Linked DNA regions of Homo sapiens: region 2 is linked to region 1. The links are contacts of gene promoters, found by promoter capture Hi-C in human tissues and cell types (Jung and others, 2019). All regions are on one chromosome and are shown on one strand. Each heading gives the region's core, a stretch centred on a gene start or on the middle of the fragment in contact. The rest is flanking DNA. Distances are from core to core; before and after follow the strand shown.

What was found. Contacts are between HindIII fragments. The study calls those that stand out against the background at their distance.
Region 2: a fragment that was not itself captured here is called in contact with the fragment with the promoter of UGT8 in region 1 in 2 of the 25 tissues and cell types used here (H1 embryonic stem cells and spleen).

What each region holds. Positions count from the first base shown.
Region 1 is chr4:114,597,070-114,601,014 of GRCh38, forward strand. UGT8 (UDP glycosyltransferase 8) reads left to right here and starts at 1,738. Exons shown (of 6, transcript NM_001128174.3): 1 at 1,738-1,905. The HindIII fragment of the contact is 5,100 bases long and covers 1-3,454 here.
Region 2 is chr4:114,477,034-114,481,166 of GRCh38, forward strand. The region is part of intron 2 of LOC105377379 (a long non-coding RNA gene); the gene reads left to right. Among named protein-coding and RNA genes, the nearest start is that of UGT8, 120 kb to the right of the region's middle. The HindIII fragment of the contact is 5,639 bases long and covers 1-4,133 here.

The DNA.
Region 1 (3,945 bases), core at 488-2,987:
AAACAATTTTAAACATTTTTATATAATAAAAGAAAAAAGTTGTTTTAATTGCTAATGATCAAGTTTTTACCAAGAATTTACATATGCATCATCAAACAGTAGCTTGAAACTGAAGCTTGACCTTTGAGAAATAAAGCTTTTAAAGTAAATGTCTAAATTCTCTTTTCTTTATTATGTTACATTTCATTTACTTTAGGTTTTCTAGTGCAATTTAAATAAGAAATAAATAGAGAGTATGGTAATCAGGTACAAAGGCTGTGAAAATATTCCCTGCATTTTGCACAGGGAATATGTTCAAATTCCTAATCTGCAAAGAAGAAAAGTGCATTTTCTTTTTTGAAATGGCATTTGAAGATCTCTCCATCCATGAACATTCTTGAGCATATGGATTTTACAATAACAGCAGTGTATATTAGTTTTTTAATTTATCATTAACTGATAACATATACAGTAAAATATAATTTCCGTTTTCTTATCTAAGGGCAGAAAATCCCAACCTATTTCTGAATCTCACTTTGGAACAAGGACAGAATGACCTGACATGGCATTTTTGATTTCCAACGTTTAAACGCATAACGTTTGTGTGCTATGGAAGCATCTTAGCTTCTGGAATTTATGCTCGACACGAAACATAAACAATAAACAATTCAGTCCACGTTATATAGACATATCTCATATATATATGAGATATATATATATAAAATATCTTACGCACATGCACACTTAGACTTTCTCGGTTTTCATGAAACTCACAATCTACCTCAGGCGCTCAAAGGCACTCGGCCTCTCAGGTCTGAGGCACCACAGAGAGGCTTCCTTGGGCACAGTTGCTTGCTGGTCAAGACGCCAACTTGGCAAGGTTATGCTGCTGGCAAAGGCAGATTCGTCAGAATAAAGTCGCCACAGGCTCAACCAGGCAAATCATGAATGGCCCTTTCAGCAGGAGCCTGAGAGGAGGGATGTTATTCAGCCCAGCAACCCTATTTACTTTTTTTCAGGATCCCCAAACTCGCGTTTTTTAAGGCTTTCCGCTACAAGAGAGCCAGAATTGAAGCCTGGGTTGGCGGCAGTGCAGGTACCTGCTCACCTAAGCATCCCTCTTTTAATTTTCCTAACTCCTCCACCCACTTGCCCAAGTATAACTTTTGAATGGATTCAGCAGAAGTGAGGCAGGAAAGGCAGGAAGATGAGAAAAGGCGCGACATCAACACGCAGAGCTCACTGAGCCGCCTTGATGATAAAAGGCGGGCACAGGGACTACGTGGGTGGTGGCAGAAAGGGCGCGGGACACGCCTCGCAAAGAGGGAAGAGTGGGCGGGGCCACGTGCCGTTGTCAGAGTTCGCAACTCGAGCGCCCAGAGGGCTCGCGAAAAGTCCCAGCCTGCAAGCCAACCTCGCTCAGCGGACGACTGGCCGGATCCCAACGCGCTGCCCCTTGCCCAGCCTGCGAGCGCGTGGTACGAAGGCGCGTCTGCATCCATGCCCCAGCCCGGGGAGCTGGAGGCGCTCGCAGTCAGAGGCGAGTGATGCTAGGCTGAGCGCGTGGCGGCCCGTGTCGTGCCCCGCTGAGCCAAGTGCGGAAGGGCAGCGGCGCGCTCCGACTCTGCTCGCCGCACGCAGGGCGGGGCGCGGCTGGGGGGCGGGGGGCCTGGCCGCCCGCTGGGAGCTGCGGACGAGCAGGCGCGCTGAGGACCCGAGGGAGGACACGGTTAAAGCATTGCTATCAACTGTGAACCCAGAGAGCCCTCCTTAGCCAACACGCTAACTCCGAAGCCTCCCTTACGCCCCCGAACCACCGAAGGCGGCGACACCTGATTCAGCGCACAAACACAGGTCCCTTCTGTCCCGGATACAATTACGCGGCAGACACACACTCAAACTCGCGCGGGGCAGCCAAGAGACGAGGTGAGCGGAGGGACCACGCCGTTCCAGAGGGCGGAAGGGGGGGCGGTCTGGGTGGAGGAGAGGGGCGTTGTTTGCTCCCTGAGGTGAGTGCCGGGCGAATGGCTGCTGTCCAGGGGCGGGGGGGTGGGAATTAGAAAGCACAGACAGGGTTGGGCTGAGGAAGTTAGAAGTGGTTAGTGGGGGTTGGCGGGGTAGGGAGAAAGGCTAGGGGTTGAGGGGGTGTGAAGGAGATCTTTTTAGGCTGGCCCCTCATAGCGCCCGCGATCCTGTTTCTGCCATATGGCATCCGTTCGAGGGTTCTCTCGCGTTTGTGCGCTCAAGGCAGAGGGAGGGTATAACGGGGAGGCGATTCGGCCGAGGACCTTGTACTTGACCCCTGAAGGGATGGGCACCGCGGAGCCCAGAGGCCAGAGCCAGCTGCCAGGGCAGGGATGGAGGTGGGGGACCAGGAGGAGCTTCGGGACCTCTTCAACTCCCCTTTACTCCGTCTTCCCCCTAAGGAGGAACAAGAGCGGGATGTGTTGGGGGTGGGGAATGTCTTGGGGCTGTACAAGCTCGCTGAGACTTTTCGGGGCCCGCCGTTTCCGCGTGCCCGCGCGACTCTCGACAATGGACAGTGTACAGTGGTGGCAGGGTTTCACGGGTCCCCGCGCCGATTTGGGAATGGTACGGGGTGCCCTTGCATTAGAGAAGCCTGTGCGGGCCCCCGGGATTAGAGAAGAGGTGAGCGCCTGCGGGCGGGGAGAGAAGGACGCGCTGCTGGCAAAAAGAAGGGCGCCTTCCATGGACTGGAGGAGCGGCGAGGGAGCCTGGTATGTGTGTTTTGGATTTGAAGGAGGCAAACCGCATCGGAGAGTGCAAGTAGATGCAGTGCGTCGGGGCAAAAGGACAATCTGAGGAGGTGGGCGGGGTACCCAATCTCTATATACAAGCTTTCTGGTTTAATTGAGGGTTTATAAAATTGAGTACGGTAAACCTGCCATTGTGCAGCACTTCCTTAGGAAAGGAATAGCCTCTGTACCTGTACCGCGAGTTCCCATCACCTTTCAGCATCTAGGCGGGGAGAGGAGAGAAGGTAGAGAACTTCTGAGAGAGTTCTGAGAACTAACGCGAATGGCTGGATTGCGCTAACTAGGCGTTCTTAGCAGGAAAATGTCGCCAAGGGAAGGAGTGGGTGGCGGTATCAAACCAGGCGTGCTCTGGAGAATCACCTTTATTATGAGCCAGTGTTAGCAGTGACGATAGAGTCTTTTATTTCTGGGGATCCTATTGGTAAAAATTAGAAAAAAACCACACTACTCCAAATACTCCAAAAATCTTCAGTCCCCTCAGGCTGTCACCTTGTACTACCAGTTTTTCAGTATCAATGACGTGAATGTTAGGGAGTTTGGCTAGATGCCAAATTGTTATCATTTCTGATAATTTCATGTTCAAAAACGTCTATATTCACTCAAAATTGGCGTGCTTCTGACATATCCCCAGAAAAAAATCACCACCATTTGAAGGAAGGATAGAAAGTGCCCTTTTTTCTTTTCTTTTTTAAAAACTTTTATTTTAGGTTTTGGGGTACATGTGAAGGGTTGTTACATAGGTAAACACATGTCACAGGGGTTTGTTTTACATATTATTTCATCACTCAGTTATTAAGCCCAGTACCCAATGGTTATCTTTAACCAATATTTTAATAGTGTTAAGAGTAACCATACTTTGTCCCCAGGAGATTTTAAAATTAGAGTCATGCATCTTAATATTATATGGTAAAGGAGACCAGAACTTTGTGTTACTTGAATTAAATCTTAGCCAGCTTAGTTTTCTCCTATAGAAACTGTCTCTTGGTGGTTTGAGGTTTTGCTTTAGGAATGTGTCTGTGTTCAGCAACTCTTCTAGATAATGCCAGAGAAAAACACTCTAGTATTGTATGATTTGCCTGCCACCTACAAGGTTAAGTTGACATCTAGTGTTGTGTGACTTAGTATTATACAAGTCTTTAAAAACTACAATAAAGCATAGTGCCCCGATATTTAGTAAAGGCTTGATACT
Region 2 (4,133 bases), core at 1,341-3,840, 120 kb before region 1:
AAGACCTGAGATTTCTTTTCCAAACACGTAACTTTATTCAATCATATAATCTTACTTAGATCTTCCCCATGTTAAGGCTCAGATCTTCCCCTTAGTGAGTGAATAAATGTAACCCAAGTGTGTAAGGCTTCTTGTGAAGATCAGTTAAGTCAACTATAGTTTATTAAGTTTCTTCTATGTTGTAGACAGGTTAACATGAAATAGTATGTTAGATACTCTTGGCATATAGTAGGTGTTTTATACATAGAAATTAGGAAATGATAATGTTGTTTTGTTCTAGTAATGTCCTGCCATTGTAAGGGTAGAATGCAAATTCATGTTTAAGGAGGAAACAAACAGTAATTTTTCACAGCTATTATTTGCCAATTCTTTAAAAAATAAAAATAAATACATTAGATTGTTAAAGCAATTGTCTAACAAAAACCTAATTTAAAAAATAAAATCCCTTGGGTACACTAACATCTCAGACTTTACCACTATACAATTCATCTATGAAACCAAAAAAGTATTTGTACTCCAAAAGCTATTGAAATATAAAATATTAATTTACAAAATAAAATCCCATCTCCATTTTTGTGTTTAATTAGAATCATATGGTTGATGATTTTGTAAGACATACAAAAGAAAATATTTCCTTGTTTAAGTAAGTTTAGCCTATTAATGCACTTAATTAGAAAATTTTTTATTATTTCAACTACTCTCAAAATTTGCTGACACAATTTTCATTCACTTTGTGATTTTAGACACTTACAAGCACAATGTTGGAAAATAGTTCTTTGCTTTAGGATTGAGATCATGAAAATGAACTGCTAAGCTTTTTATTTTCTTCTTTTTTGATGGGAGAATAACCAAAAAATTATCAAAACTCAGGCTTAATTGTATAGAAAGCAATTATTATATTACACATTTATCCCTTATTACCAGGTAAGTTTTAAACTTCTCTTGTATATTCTTTCTTTTTTTAAAAAATTCATATATATATGAATTCTATATATGAATTATTATTATATATTATATATTATTATTATATATGAATTCATATCTATATATTGACATGGGGTCTCACTGTGTTGCCCAGGCTGGAGTGCAGTGGCGGGATCTCAGCTTACTGCAATCTCTGCCTCCCAGGCTCAGGAGATCCTCCTACCTCAGCCTCCCTAGTAGCTGGGACCACAGACGTGCACCACCAAGCCAGGCTAATTTTTTTGTATTTTTGTAAACAGAATTTTGCCATGTTGCTCAAGCTGGTCTCGAACTCCTGACCTCAAATGATCTGCCCACCTCAGTCTCCCAAAGTGCTGGGATTACAGGCATGAGCCACTGTACCCCAGCCTGTATTGCATATTCTTGATATTTGCAGGTAAACCACATCATTTATGAATTTTGATGTATGCATATGACAGAAAAATTAAAAACAAACAAAAGTGGTTTAAACAACATATACGTTTATCTTATTTTATACAAAAGAAATCCAGATTTGGCCAGTGGAAGCATATCCACAGTGTGATTAGAGGCCAGGCTTTCTTCTTTCTCCTCTGTAGCCCTTGCACATGGTTTCTTCAAGGTTACTTCATGGTATTAGATGGATTCTGAAGCTCCTGAAATCACTTTCATGACAGCACAAAAATAAGAATAAAGAAGAGAAAAGCAAAATGGGGACTTTCTGGAGATACAACACAGTGCTTAATATTTCATTGAACAAAAGTCATCTGGCCACAGAAAGCTGCAAGAGAGTCTTTTATTCTAGGTATCAATGTATTTAATGAAACCTGAGTTCTGATACTAGTATTTTTTGGAATAAGGTAGCTCTTCCTCCCACTATTTGGCATGATTTGGTTTTTTTCAGTCCTGTAGAAATTCTTTGAAACCTGTATGCTGTGATTAGTGATGGAAAATACACTGCAAAAAGTTTCAGATAGATGCAGATTAAGGCCATTTTATAGATTTGGTTAGAAGAAAACAAGAAAGTTCTTCTCTGACTGTTTCTGTTTCCTCATTAGAATATGACTGCCCATGTAGAATGCCCACTTAAAGCTCATGATGTTCCCTTTAAGTAAAAACCAGTCAGCTTACTCATATGATATTTCTTTCCAGCCACAGAAGTTTCTTCTGTCTTCATGTTAGAAGGTGAATTACTCATTAAAAATTTGGTTTGTCAGAGAATTACCATAGAAAGTGGCAGATGTAGAGAAATTGAGGATATTTGCAAACAAGTTTTTTTAATGAGTGATGGTAGTGTGGAACCATATAATCTAATGTGGTTTAAAAGGAAAACTAATATACAAGGAGACAGTATGGTAATGAGAAAATCGCGAGGTCAAGGAATTGGTCCTCAATGAAGTTGAGGAATTATTTCAGCAATGGTACTTTTGCAAGTGAGATAGAAAAGTAAAAGACAATCGTTGTAAAGCAATATGGTTGAAATACAGATGCTGTAGTTGACATAGTTTCTAGAAGAGAAGCATCTAGAATGTTGTTGGGTTCAGTCAGGCTGGTAGGGAAAATATTAGAGATAGTTACAGAGATAGACACAAATCTTGGAAGGCCAAGAAGTTTGCATAACTTTGGTAACAGATATGGTTGAAGACAACCTGATCTTAACCTTTAGTTAAATAAAGTAGAGTAGTAACAAAGGAATGTGGGGTAGTTAACTAGCTAGCTTGTTTACTCATGTGGTCTTAAGACTAACCTTTGATGTACCACAGGTGCTTAAGTGCTTTTTACTCGGGAAGTCCACAATGTCAATTACCCTCTAATGGTGTTGACTCAAGCCTTTGTGAATTAATCTTACTGAATAAATGTGAGTCTCATCAGCTGATTGGGCCATAGTTGCAACTGTTCACAATACTCAGCAGGGAATTTGTAAATGGCTTGGACACTCAGCTGAACTGGCAAAACAGATTATCTGTGTGTCAGTGTACTTTATTCATCCGTCGCTGGGTCAGGGTCTGCAGGCAGACCCCGGCAGCTGGTGCCCCTGTGTGAGGAGTGCTACCACAGGATTTGACCACGGGGATGATTTGTTGAGATGGAGATGGCAGTAAATGTTATTTAAAATGAAGAGGGCAAACCATGCATTATCAGCCTGTTGAATAGGTCTTCCTCTTGGATTTTGAATTCAATAAAAATGCTGATAGACAGGTAGATGTAGAAAACAAAATTGGTGGATCAGCAATTATAAAGTCAGATTGGGTAGAACTGGCTAGTGCGGAAGAACAAAAGAAAACCTCTGCTTGAGAAGGCTACAAAGAAGGCAATCTCCTCAGATCCTCAGAAGATTCTGAAGTGTCAGTTGGGACAAAGGAACTGGAGGGAATTTACAGAGAAGACAGAATATACGGGAACATACTGATCGTAGAACAGTATTTCAAGGACGTGATAGGGTTTGGAGAAGAATGGTGGGAACAGAAGAGGATATCGTTTTCTAGGCATCAATCTACATTGAGTTTGTAAAAACACTGATATCTGTAGTTTTTAGAACAGCAATACCACACAAAAAGAGAAACACAGAACTCATTACATTGTTCCGAGGAACCATCGATATGTGTGTGTCCATTAGTCCCCCAACAGAGTGGAAGGGTTTATAAGGTAGGGAAGCATTGATGGAAGGGAGTAAATAGAAGAATATCGAAAGAAGTATGAAGATGAGAGTGTAGGTGCTACTGGATGATCATAGTGGCAGTGATGATATAAATGGTGATGGGAAACAAGACAGAAACAATTATTTGTAGGAGGTGGGCATTCTGCATCAGGGTCTAGCTTTGTCATCTGATCTGTCGTTGGCACTGATAACTTCTGCTTAATACTTTCAAGCACATTCTCTTTCCTTATTTTGTTATCAAAAGATTCTCCAAAATATTATATTTGACATTTCTGTTCTAATCTTACTATAACATAGTGGTTAAGATTTCAGTTTTCAGAACCAAAAAGATCTGGGTTTGTATCATAATTCTTCTATTTATTGGCTATGTGACCTTGTCATGTTGCTTTACCTCCAGACAGTAATATGGGGATAATATCACCTACCTCATAACTTTATCCTGAAAGTCGTTGTGAAATGCCAAGCACAAAATGTGGTATACAGTAGTTGGTCATGTTAATTTTTATTAGCTGTTACTATTCTAGCCTAAGCC